Linked DNA regions of Homo sapiens: region 2 is linked to region 1. The links are contacts of gene promoters, found by promoter capture Hi-C in blood cells and fetal thymus (Javierre and others, 2016). All regions are on one chromosome and are shown on one strand. The core of a region is centred on a gene start or on the middle of the fragment in contact, and the rest is flanking DNA. Distances in the headings are between cores, read along the strand shown.

Region 1 (6,706 bases), core at 1,535-4,034:
ACATGACCACATCTTTTGTACAGATTTTTCGTTAAGAAAAATTTAACCCCCTCACTTCTGCATTTCGTTTATTTTCTTCAGGTATTTTATAGAATCAAAAAGGTGAATATAAATATGTGTACTACAATGGTTATTTGTGGCAATAATAGGACTAAATTAATTCTCACAAATCTATTTTAGATCTACTGAATTTGAGCAAATCATGCCTTTGTTAATTGGCTTTGATGACATTACTGAAGAGTATTCAGTATCTTTGATGTATTTTTTGAATTTTTTTATTCTAGCTGTAAAACCAGATATAATTTTGGTTCAATCCTGTTTTTCCTGTGTACTAACAATAGAATCATGTGCAAATTACTCAAAATCTCTGACTTTATTTTTCTAATGGTTAAAATGAGTATAAAGTCAATGTCATGGAGCTGTTACAAAAATTAAATGAGTGGCTATACTTTCTAAATACCAGTTGCCTCAACCTGACTTTGTTTACTCTTGTTTATAATGCAGTGATACAACCCAAAAAGATGAAAATGGCACACTGGAAATAAACGATAGTGGAATATTTTGAGTACTCTAATGTAATTATATAAGTAAACGGGAAAAGTGCAGGGAGGATATTGATGTCTTGCTTTTCTTCAGCAGAGCTGCATTAACATAAAGGGGAGTCATTTTATTGAATAATAAAAGACTGACAATCACTGTGATTGGCTGACAGCCATTAGTGCAGTGTAATTCTAAATAGCTTGTTTTTCAAAGTTCTTCTTGAATAACTCTTCCCAGCCTGGTTGAAAGGTTCAAAACTCATTTTTAAAGTGAAGTTTTTCACATTTGAATACCACTGTGATATGAATGATGGAAAAAGATATGCATTAAAATATTTTCTTCTTAAATGTTTAGAATCAGATATATTTTCAAATGGAAGAGAAAATGTGGAAAATTTAACAAACTAAGTTTTAAATCCTAGATAAAATTAATTCAGGACTTGTGGAAGAAAAAGATCACGTGTAAAGAGATCTTACTTAATAAAATAAAATAAAATAAGTCCAACATGTTTTACAGCGAGAGCACAATATTTGATCTGTATTAGCCAGCTTAAAATTCTGTGATTTCCGAGTAGAACTCAAGGCTTCCAAAGTTATCAAATCCACTTTGATGTATTCATCTCTCTCTGTCAGTATTCCTAATCAACAGTCCTCCCTGGAAAGTATGTATAATAAGTGGGTGTACAGTTGGCAACTCACCAAAATAAATATTTAGTGATATTTTAATGGCTATTTTAAATCTCTTATTTAAATTGCGGATTAAAACTTTATTTGGCCAATGAATTCTGAGCACAATGTTTGAGGACCATATTTGCTACTGAAGCTCTGTGTGAAGGATGTGTACTTAATTTTCAGAATGTCGAGGTTAGATCATCTCTGATGGAGGCATTTTATATGAAACGTCAGCATTGGAAACATTGAGATAAAGATCGGGAGCAGGAATCTTTGAACTGCAGAATTGTGTTAATTGCTCATTCTCAAATATAGAGACGCCAATTAATTCCACACAACCTAGATTCAAAGCAGCACAGGGAAATGGTCCTGAGGTGAGTATTGTACAAAAATGAAGAAAAATAGATGTGTTCTAGCGTCCACAAAGCTGATTCTTCAACAGGCAGTAATAGAAGCCCAATGCACCCAGCGATTGGCTGATGGCATCTTTGTTCAGGCGATCGATGAGCGCCCTAACCCACACGCTGGGTGGAGAAATCCCTCTGCCACCCTCACCTTCAGAATCCACTGCTCAGCCACCTGGCTCCCGCGGGGTGCGCCACCGCCTCACTGCTGGTACACGTCTCCCCCTCTCGACCGCCAAGTGCTTGCTCCCTCCAGGCGAGCACTCACACAATGGACTCACTTGTTTCCCATGCCCCTCTCCTTTGACTTCCAGCCTCAGCGAACAACTTGAGCAAGAGTCAAACAGGAGTCTCTGCCATGGAGCATAGACCCTTGGAGCTTTCCAGACCAGCTCAGAAGCACGGGCGCACACACAGACAAAACAATGCCTTGTCCACGAATGAATAAAGGACACCCATGCCCCCACCCACCGCTCCGCAACCCGCAGAAAGAAACCCGGGACGGGGTTTCCTAAATAAGAGATTTTGTTGTGTCTTTCAAACTGCAAGCATTCCCCTTGAAGACGGCGAAAGAGAGGCTGTGCGTTCAGATGGCAATAAAGATTGACAGTGGCTTTGCCCGTGACAACGCCCCCAGCATCGCGCTGAGCCAGGTTCCCTGAGAACCGGGAGGGGGAAACGCAGATCTAGGGAGGAGGGAACAGCAGAGGCAAAGGCAGCTTGGGAGGGATGGGAAATGGAAAATCAGGGAAACAAACAAACAAACAAACAAAATGAATGAGTGAATGTGGGCTTGAATAGTAAAACTTCCAGAGAGAAGACGATGGGATCTCTCCCCAGGTAACTACCTGTAGATGAAAAATAGATGAAATACACAAGGAAGTGGCAAGCAACAACTTTGAGGTGAGCAGCAAGTTGTGCACCTCCTCTCAAGGCGCTGGATCAGCACCCCTGAGCTGCCCCCACAGCACACACTCCCAATGCGAGGCGGCGGCGGCAGCAACAGAGGCAGCAGCAGCAATCGCGGCAGCAGCGGCAGAGGCGGCGGCAGCTGCGCGCCTCGGGCCCAACCCCGCTCGGCTCCCCCTCTCGCCGGCGCCCTGCCTGTCTTGCGTGTGCGTGTGCGTGTGCTCAGCCTCAGCGTGAGGGGCACCTGCTCGTCTGGGCTCACAGCGAAGGCAGCCTCGCCGCGAGCTGCCGCTGCCGCTGCTGCCGCCACTGGTGTTGCCGCTCTCAGGCGCCAGGCTCCCCGTCGCCGCCGCCGCCGCCTCGCCAGCCAGAGTTGGGCTCCGTGGGCTTCCCCCCTCGCAGCCTCGGTCCTTCCCCGCTGCCTGCAAGTCAGCCTGGCTCCGAGTCACGTGTCAGTGCCTGAGGCAGAGACTGCGAGAAAAAAACGCGCTTCATTCCTTCTTCCACCGCCATACTGTATTTTATACTAAATCTCATTTTTATTCCAACATTTTACTCCCGCTCGGTGAGTACCTTCTCAGTGGCATTCTTGTCCTATTCTTTTTTTTGTCCTTTTTTTTGGTTTTTTGTTTTTTTTGTTTTTGTTTTTTTTCTTTTTTTCCACTTCTTTGATTATTGTTTATATTTGGGAAAGCTGGAGGAGCATGGTTTTGAGCCTTTTCCTGAATCCAAGTTTTTCTAGCATGCGATCGTTCTGTAGACAAGGCGCTGTGTCTCGGAGTCCGCGGCGACCGTGCCCGCTGGGAGCGTCTCCCAAGTCCAGCAAAATGTGCAACTGGTTTTATGGAAAAAGCGATGTGAAGTATGGTGCCTATTTTTTTCCTTTGTAAAAATAAAAAGCATGTTTCTAACTCTTTTTTTGCATACTCTTTTTCTGATAACATTTTTGTATAGGTGGGATTTTACGGCAGTGTTTACAAGTTTGTGGTCTTGCAATACTGGTGCAAACCACTGAGCAAAGACATTAATTTTATATTTTTTGTGCCCTTTTTGGAAGCCGGTGAAAACAAATTCGTTTTTTTTCCCTCCTGTTTTTGATACCCATTGATAACATGAAACTTTTCTTACAGCTGGTGATTGGGATCATTTTTAAGCAAAATACTTTTTTCCTCCTTTAAATTAACTATGACTTTTGCACATTTGACTTTTTTAAAAAACCGAGATAATTTTATGATAGATATCCTGATATCTATATCTATATTGTCCCTTATTTCTCCCCCTTCCCTCCCCGTAAATCAATTTTCAAATGATGGCAGTGGAAGGTTTTTCTGGAAAAAAAAAAATGAAGTGCGGTTTGGTTTCCTTGTCAACGGAGGATGAAGTGAACAGCTGAGCAGCTCGCAGAGAGCAGGTACTTGGTCCCCTTGGAGGCGTTTCCCGGGTGTGCAGTGGCAACACTGGTCCTAGCAAAGAAATGTGTGAGTGTGAGTGTGTGTGTGTGTCTGTGTTTGCGCGCGCGCATCTCCGGGCAGTGTCCGAGCCCGAGGTGGGGAGAGCGGCGCAGGGAGCCAGGGAAAACCAAAGTCCGTTCCCTGCTTCAGGATCGTTTTCTAGATGTGCGCAAAATACAGTCCCCTCCCCCCACCCCTCCCACGGTGAGCTGCGCCCAGGTCGTCTCCCGGCGGGGCGGGTGGCGTCTGCGCTGCGGGCCGCGCCGGCCGGGCACTAGGCGGCCGGCGGGCCCTGTAAGTTCTCCGAGGGCCACTTGCACAGCAGGAGGGGCGAGGGCCGTGTACGTGGCGCTGGCCGTCGGGCGGGCTAGAGGGGACCCTCAGAGCACCCGGGAGATGGGGGTAGAAGCGGCAGAGACCGCATATTCCGGAGGGGCTGGCTCCAGGCCACGCGAGCCGGAGCTGGAGACATTTCCAGAGCCTTGAGGATGGCACCGGCCCTCGCACGCTCAACTCCTGCTCCTCCTCTTCGCAATGAGTAAACGACGCAGTAGGTCCTACCCAGCCTATTTTGCTTTACCAAAGGGCTTTGCTTTCTTAGGGATGCTGTCTTTGGATCTTTTTTTTCCCTGTTGTGTTGCGTTGGTTTTAAGTGCCTGCTGGTGTCGTCTTCCAGGGGATGGGGAAATAGTTTCTTATAAGATGATCACTTGGGTTTAATGTTGAGGACGACGCTGTTAGTTTGCAGTAATGACCCTACACCTCTAAGGTATTAAAAAAATGCCTTTTATTTAAATTTTGTTAAAGGGGCAGAGTTTTCCCTCTTTTTAACCACCTGATACTGGCTCTAAAGGTTTTCCCCTGAGAACTGTGTACAGGGCAGGAGTGAGGGGTTGGTGATAGAGGTGATGATTTCGTGTGTTGGTAGCACTGACGTATTCAATGTTGAATGTATTCTATGATATTTTATGATTATCCTGTTACATGTTTTCAGTATAATTTAGCATTACTTTTCAGAGACGTACCAGTTGGCAATAAAAAGCCTTTTCTGTATTTAACACTGTGACCGAATCTGCTGGAAATTTTTCTGTCCAAATAAATTTCCTGAAGGCATACATCTTAAAATCTGGAGAGTCACCATTATTTAAATACTTTGATTTTGAAGCTTTGATTTTCTTACCTTTTCCCCCCTTAAATGAAAAGCTTAGCTTTAAATTACCATGTGTATATACTTTGAATTCTGTAAAATAAACATAAAGCAAATGAAACAACAACTTTTTACCTCTCAGATGAAGTTTTCTTCTAGGTAACTACAGAAATAAAAACTGACTGCAACATACAGAGGGGCCCATGACAAAGGGGTTTATAACATACACTGGCTTTTTCAAGCAAATATTTCACTGTCTGTAACCTCAGTTTGTGGAATGAAAGGTTTTACGCCTTAGTTTTTACTCTTTGTGGTCAAAAAGTAAGGCGTGCAATGGGCCATTTAACTGTAGAAGATTAAAAGTTAGTGTAATATCTGGAAAGTTGTATATATTTTTTATTCACAACTCATGCAAGTATCTCAAAAGTCTTTGGACATTTCATTGTATTTCCTGGCGGGGAAATACAATGTATGTGAGTTATTTTGTTCTCCGAGTAGCTTTTCTCTGTGAAGGAAATCCTGTTGCATTTATATAAAGAAGATAGTTTATGTCACTGTCTGTGGACACCATATTTGATATCTTGAGGTGTATAGTTCTAAGATTTGAAGCCAATATGATGGCACTAAGCCTGAAATTAGGATTTTCTTATTTTGTATAGTGAGCTAATTACTAAAATACAGTCTTTCATATGCCTCAAACAGCTAACATAAAACATTAAAAAAGCCACTTGCAACATTCTGTGATTTTAAAAATCATTTCAATTATAACAATGTATGTACATAGAAATGCTCATTTATTAAAATGCAAGACAATTTATGTGTATAATATATTTTTGTATGTTTTATGTATTGTAAGTCGTTTAGTTCTTTTAAGAGAGAGAGAGACAGAGCAAGCAAGCAAGAACTTGAATGATCGAACCTGCATTTTCATTAAGAGAATCAGTTGCTGCCCTAAGGTTGAGGTAGTATGTGGTTTAAGATTGGGCAAAGCACTAGCTGTACTGTGTGATATTTCCCAATGAGATTGAAACAATTAATGGGACCAAAGACGATTTTAATGTGAGGACAGAGAGGTAGTTGTGCTTTAATTTCTGTAACTTAAGATCATTCTAAGAACCTTTAGTTATCTATGTTTTCATTTATTTAAGATTCATTTTTAATTATATTGTAGACTTGTATTACATTTCTATCTATTACATTCAAATTTTTCAGATTTCTTCCTGTGTGAATCATTCTGGGAATTCTACAACTCTTAAACTGGCCACCTGTTTAGTTTTTGATTTAAAATTGTTGAAGGTAGTATCCTAGATTTAGCACCGCCTACTGGCTTCTCATGGAAAAAATGTATTTTTTCATTCGCCAAGCGACCCACAGGGATTTAGATCAATTTAATTGTGCAGATCTTTTCAACTGCTTACTAAGCGAGAAGGAGGGAAAAAAAAGTTTCTATTTTGTAATGAGAGAGGGTTTCCAAGGTAAAGGTGGGGACTGAGGGAAATAAGACCCACAAATTAAATTGGCATTGGATCACTATCTGACCTCAAACATTGTACTATCTAAACTGTGACAAAGAAATAATCACAA
Region 2 (7,014 bases), core at 1,305-3,804, 1.9 Mb before region 1:
TGTGACACATTTTCTTTATCCAGTCTATCATTGATGGGCATTTGGGTTGGTTCCAAGTCTTTGCTGTTGTGAACAGTGCCACAATAAACATATGTGTGCATGTATCTTTATAGAAGAATGATTTTTAATCTTTTGGGTATATACCCAGTAAGGTAATTGCTGGGTCAAATGGTATTTCTGGGTCTAGATCCTTGAAGAATTGCCACACTGTCGTCCACAATGGTTGAACTAATTTACACTCCCACCAACTGTGTAAAAGTGTTCCTTTTTCACCACATCCTCTCCAGCATCTGTTGTTTCCTGACTTTTTAATGATCACCATTCTAACTGGCAAAAGAAACTATCATCAGAGTGAACAGGCAACCTACAGAATGGGAGAAAATTTTTGCAATCTATCCATCTGACAAAGGGCTAATATCCAGAATCTACAAAGAACATAATGAAATTCACAAGAAAAAAAAAACTACCCCATCAAAATTGAGTGAAGGGTATGAACAGACACTTCTCAAAAGGAGACATGCAGCCAACAAACATGAAAAAAAGCTCATCATCACTGATCATTACAGAAATGCAAATCAAAACCACAATGAGATGGTCTTTATTTTTAAGAATGTGTTACTTATGTGTGAATACATATATATAATTTAAAACTACATATATACACAAACTATATATATTTGATATATGTATAAGTATTTTGCTTTTTTACTTTTAAATGTCTTCTTATGAAAAGTTTGCAAACATAAACATGCAAAATGAACCTATATAACAATCGCCTAACTAAATATTCACAAATTTATTAATTTTGCTTTGTTTACTCCTTGTTTACACTGCTAGCTAATTTTTAGAAGGGTTAGATCACTTTAAATAAATGCCAGTTGACATATAATTTATGAATATTATTTTAATTCATGTATTACTACATTATAACCTTTTTTCAAAGACTGCTCATTCAAGACTGCATTTCATTTGTGTGAATAATTCTGTAAACAACATTGATTAAAAGCAGTGATGGGCTGGTAAATGTTTACCAGCTGACTCTGAAACAAAACAAAAACAAAACAAAACCCATTTGTTTGTGACAGTTACCAATTTCTGTGTGTAAATACTCCCATCACTATCAATTTGGCATCACTAAACATCGATTTGAAAAGAGAGGCTAACAACAGTTCCCCTGAGCCAGTACAAGCTGGCTTCAGCACAGCACTGTATCAATCTGCTTATTTAATTACATGGTTTGGACATAGAAATGTATATTTCCCTCTGTAACTCAAATATTAAAGTCCTGGGTCATTCTGAATGTGGAATAAATATCTCCTGTAAATATTTTAATTTATATTAGCAAGTTAACGAAGTGTTTCTATCAAGTGCCTGTGTGGGAGGAGTAGAATATGTTGAGTAATGATTTCTTAATTAAATTAAACAATGCCATATATTTCTACATGACATCTTGTACCAGTGGACACTCAATAAAAATTAGTTCAATGAGAAAAATGATATATTACAAAATATAAATGAAGTTAGAATTATGCAAAAATATATATTATTGCTCACACATAATCAAGGCCAGAGAATTGGATATTTTATTTAAAATAGCATTTTAAAACTATATAGGTGATTTATATTCAAAACTTAAAATGCCTGAGGCTGTTCTGTTTTCCGGCATGTGAGTCATCTAAAATCAGGAGATGGAAATTCAGGGGGTATGATGTTAAATAATGCATGAGTGATATAATCTTATTGTGTATCTCATTAGTAAAATGCTACAGGAAACTAATTTTTTTTAAAGGAAAGCTTTCTTTTCTTAGACACCATTTTTCAGCATCATCACATTTAAAGAGTCAATTTTCAGACAACCTGATGGGAAATCATATGAAGTTATAATGCAGTACAGACAGTTGATATTGTGTAGATCAAAAGGAAAATCATGAATCTCATTTCTGATTCAAGCTTTAGTCTCTTTCCCTCTCTTTATTTCCCTTCTTTTTAATCTTCTGCAACAAACAATTTTAAATCTCTTCCACCTAATAAAATGTAGATTACCACCTCTTGGGTTCAGAGTTATTAAAGGAGTTTTATTAGCTTTTGAACTACGCAGCATTCTGGTAAGGAACTGGTTATATAAATAATCATCTTTTTCTTTATCTCTTGGCTTCCACCTATAATTAATGATCTCCATCACCTTATCTTACACACAACCATTTCTTCATAAACAAATATGTGGTCTGGTGCAGATGCAGCTGAGTGTCCTAAGAAGCCAATATAGCAATCTTACCGCATTTTAAAGCCTGCAATTTCATGCCTAACACTTGGCCTTGTAACCATGGTATCTGCAGTGAGATGCTGGATCCAGAAGCATCAAACAGAAGGATTATTTCTTGGGTATGTTGTACACAGTCAAGAACTCTAAAGAGGACAAATTTTCAGAGCAAGTAAGAAGACTGTGTGTAATAAAAACATGTACGTTATTTAAAAATATTGTTTAGAGAATGTATTTGAAGCTCTTATGAGAAAAATAGTTATTAGCAAGATAGTATACCCTATATGTGATCATTAGTTGTTACAGTTTCTCTTCAAATAAAAATATATTAGCTGAATTTCCTTATGTCTCTATATTCAGAAAAAGAGGTGCCCCAAGGAGTAACTGAATTGTATTTTATCAATTTGTAAATTATGATATGCTTATGCACACATACACGTAAATGCAAACATATAAATGTATTTTTTGAAATAATATTAACCTTTTTCAGATTTCAAAGCATTTGAAAAAAAATTCCAGTATGTTAATTAGACTCTGTTGGATATTTATTTTTATTTTTTGCTGCTTAGCACATATTTCGCCTTTGTAACAGCTTTCCAGTCTACCTTTAGGAATGGTTTCCACTCATTTTGTAGAGGTTTGGTAGGGTAATTAATCTAGGTGCTCTACCTACAATTAACAGAAACCAGAGGGGTCATTACAAACTCCTTCAGCCAAATATCCCATATCAATTGCCTTGTTTTCTCCGAAATTCAACTAGGGCGAACAGTAAGATGATCTAATCTTAAGCAATAAGACTAACTCTCAGGTTATGAATATTATCTCTTACAAGAGATTGAAACATAGACCAAATTTTGTTTGTTCATTCATTTGTATCCTTTCCCAGTTTTCCTGGCTTAAAGCTTGAGACTTAATTTTTACAATAATTAAAAGACCCCTTCAATGAACTTAACTAAACCAGATGCAATCTATTCAGGAGGGAATTTTAACTACTTCCTTGGGGAGCAAAAATGTAATAATAATTTTAAAAGCTGCCTTGTGATTTAAAGTAATGCCCATCAGTTCTTCTTCTTCTTTTTTTTTTTTTTTGCTCTCTTTTGTATTATTCATGGGTGTTATAATAGAAAAGAAAAGATGGAGAATTTCTGTCGTGGATCACAGGTCTCTGTTACTGCCATCTGAAGACAATATCTGTCTGGAGACCATTTATGAAATGAGATACCCAGGAGTTATTCCAGGATGCTTTGAAACTGTATGGGGTCAGAGGCTGGGGCTGTGATAGCTGAGCCTAACCAGGCTTATGTCAATAGGTTGTTGCCTGAAATATTCTATTAGACACCATTCTCTGAATCTTCTGTAAGAACCACGATTCTAAAAAAAAAATCTTCTTTAAGAGTATTTATATTATTAATTACAGAGAAAACTTGTGGTTTTTCTTTGGTTCAGTTTTGTAAAAAAAAATGACTGAAAGTCCTGTATTCTAAGCTCTAAGCTATTATTGACTCAGACCAAGAACAAGGAATATTCTTGTTTCACCTTGGATAAGTGGCTTAACTTGGACCTTAGTTTCCTTACCTGTAATAAAACCCAGGCTAATTATCCATATAACAATATGTTTGGCCCATGAGTTAAAAAGCACTTTGCGTTTTCTAGTTAAAATGAAATATGTGGTATGTAGTAAGATTAAACAATAATATAATGATTATTAATCATTTTTGTAATTTAATTATGCAATATACATGACTAATCATTATAATTTAAAGGGTATAGTAAGCAAGTAGAATAACTATTGTTATAGTTATATATTCCAATAACTATATTGGAAGAATAGCTATATTGCAAGTATAATGGAACATCAGGTATAGGTTAAAAGGTATATATTAAAATTACTCATAAGTGTCCTGGAAATATATTAAATATTACTGAATATGCCTTTAATGCAATTAGTTTCAGAGTTTTATATGTAAAAGGCAGTCATTTCCCTCCTCTTGTAGCAAGCAAGGAAGCTTTCTCTTGTTTTCCCTATCTTCTTTTTCCAGCTGAGTGTATATTTTTGAGTGTTCTGCATGTTTTTATTCAAGTCTTCTAAAAAGGGAACAGGAAGAGATCTGAGGCTTTTGGAAGGACAGACAGGGTCAACTCTCCTGGTAGAATCTTTAATGCTAGTCCTCATTTGAGCAAGCCATTTAAATATAGGCAATTTATATCATGCTAGCATCCACTCTGTAATTGCCTGATTTCTGGATGAGTTTATCTGCATGATGTCAAAAAAGGTTAGAATTTTTTAAAATTTATTTTGGCAAAAGGGAAATAGTTAATAAGAGTTTATGATCCAGCATTCCCTATGGTTCTTGCTGCTTGATACTGGAAGAGACAATTATTAACTTTTTTTCTCTGCCATGGCACATAAGGGAAATGATATCTGCTCACTCATTTACTAATTTATTCATTTAGCAATTATATGGGTTGTGGTCATGCTTTATGTTTATCCAGTGGATGAAATCTACAATTATGAAATCTCCACAGGGCTATCATCAATGCCTTCCCTGGTAGGAAGATAAGTTCCCAGTATTCCAAACTGAATCTTGTGTTATAACTGTTGATCCTGTTTTCAGTCGAGTTCACTAAACAAAAATTATCCTGAACCTAATTTGCTGAATTAATTTTACCTAGAATATTTTTAAGCCTACTCCAGGAAACGAACTGACATTTAAACATCTTTCAATCAGAAAAGATGTTCCAGATTCCAGACAAAGGACTCAGAGTTAAACTTTGTAATGCAACTTAGCTGTAATTTAGGGTCTGGCTCTTCTAAGAAACAGACTACAGAGATCATCATATTATGACAGGAGTAATAAGAATAATGTAAGTTATATTTTCTTGCTTTACTCTCTTGAAATCCCTAACCCACATTAAGAGTAGTGTTTGATGAAAATCACTGAACCAAAAAAAAAAAAAAAAAAGAATTTGAAATGCAAGTGTCATTTGTAATGCCTTTAAGGAATTACTCCTTAATCCCATGCTTGTAAATAACTCCTGGCAACATCATTAAGAATTAAGCGTGTCTCTGGAGAAGGACTTAAGCAATCTGAGGTGACAGCACCATAGCTGGATCTGCTATTATGTATTATGCTGAATCATAGCTAGGAAGTGCATCAGAGCTGAGAATGCTGGGTAAAAACTGCAGACAATGCATCTATCTGGAGGTATTAGCATGGCTCCTTGGAGAGGTGGTCATATGCAGTGAGATGGGGAGGAAGGGAAATAGGAACTGAAAAAGGAGACGAAACAAGAGCAGATGTGGTAAAACAGAGTTGGCTGCACATCAAGAGGCAGTTGCGCAGGGCTACAAAGAATGTATTGATCTCTTAACCTGTTTCTATTCATTTTGCCATCAGGTGGTCTTAAGAGTAAAACTGTATGAAACCATTCTTTTTGTTTGATAGGGACCAGTGTGGTCACAATCACTTTTGACCTCAGGTATATCTAGGGGATTCAAAATTGCACATGCATTCATTAGGCTGGAGGGATACTTCTAAAGATGAATGTATGAGAATTGCTAAATTAGTGCTATAAACTTTACCTGCTACGGAAGCCCAGAGCAAACTGCCATCTAAGCAAGATTAACTTGCAAGCAGTGCTTAAATTGAGGCTTCAAGGAAGGATATTATTTAGGCTGCAGAGGACAATAGGCTATTCTAAAGATATGACACTGAGTAAAGTTCTGAGGTGTAATATGTAGATTGAATTTGGGAGATAATAAGGCCATCATTTTGATATACCAGAATTCCTCTGGACAAGAAACTAGTATTCCTTTTTTGGCTATATTTTGGTAATTTTTAGTTTTCTCAAATTTCTCCTTCCAGTTACAATGGCTTATCCTCTGCAATCTGAAAAGTAGACTTGCAAGTAAATAAATTTTAGTTAATTAATTATTTATTCATTAATCGTTAATTTATTCAACTTGGAATGTGTGAGGGTCAGTTTTATGCTTCAGTTTGACTACGGTTTAATCACTAGTTGTTTATTCAAACACTAATCTTGGTGTTACTGTGAAAGTATTTTGCTGATGTGATAAGAGTATATAATTAGTTTATTGTAAGTAAGATTGTCCAGATAATCTGGGAAGACTTAATCAAGCCACTGAAAGGCCTTAAGAGCATAACTAGCTTCCCAGAAGAAATTCTGTCTCTGGATAGCAGCCTCAGTTTATGCCTGAAGGTTCCAGCCTACCTTTCCTGATGGCTGATTTCAGGCTTTAGATTTACCTAATCTGCTCATAAATCACGTTAACCAATTTCTTGCAATAAATCTTTACATATGTATGGATATATGTATCCCATTGGTTCTGTTTTTCTGGTGGAACCCTGACTGACACAGAATGCCTTAACAAGTAGATTTTTGGGGTGTTTTAAAACGCTTAAATTTTTTAGTTGGAAGATACTATGTGAAAATTAACCAAAAAAGAGCCCGCATTGCCAAGTCAATCCTAAGCCAAAAGAACAAAGCTGGAGGCATCATGCTACCTGACTTCAAACTATACTACAAGGCTACAGTAACCAAAACAGCATAGCACTGGTACCAAAACAGAGATACAGACCAATGGAACAGAACAGAGCCCTCAGAAATAATGCCACATATCTACAACTATCAGATCTTTGACAAACCTGACAAAAACAAGAAATGGGGAAAGGATTCCCTATTTAATAAATGGTGCTGGGAAAACTGGCTAGCCGTATGTAGAAAGCTGAAAC

Evidence for each region. Contacts are between HindIII fragments. The CHiCAGO score rates a contact against its expected background, and 5 or more counts as called.
Region 2: a fragment that was not itself captured here is called in contact with the fragment with the promoter of RALYL in region 1 in 1 of 17 cell types (endothelial precursors); the score reaches 6.0 in endothelial precursors.

What each region holds. Positions count from the first base shown.
Region 1 is chr8:84,180,490-84,187,195 of GRCh38, forward strand. It overlaps RALYL (RALY RNA binding protein like), which reads left to right and starts at 2,785. Exons shown (of 9, transcript NM_173848.7): 1 at 2,785-3,935. The HindIII fragment of the contact is 11,643 bases long and covers 1-5,138 here.
Region 2 is chr8:82,315,391-82,322,404 of GRCh38, forward strand. No RefSeq gene overlaps it. Among named protein-coding and RNA genes, the nearest start is that of LINC02839, 160 kb to the left of the region's middle. The HindIII fragment of the contact is 1,212 bases long and covers 1,949-3,160 here.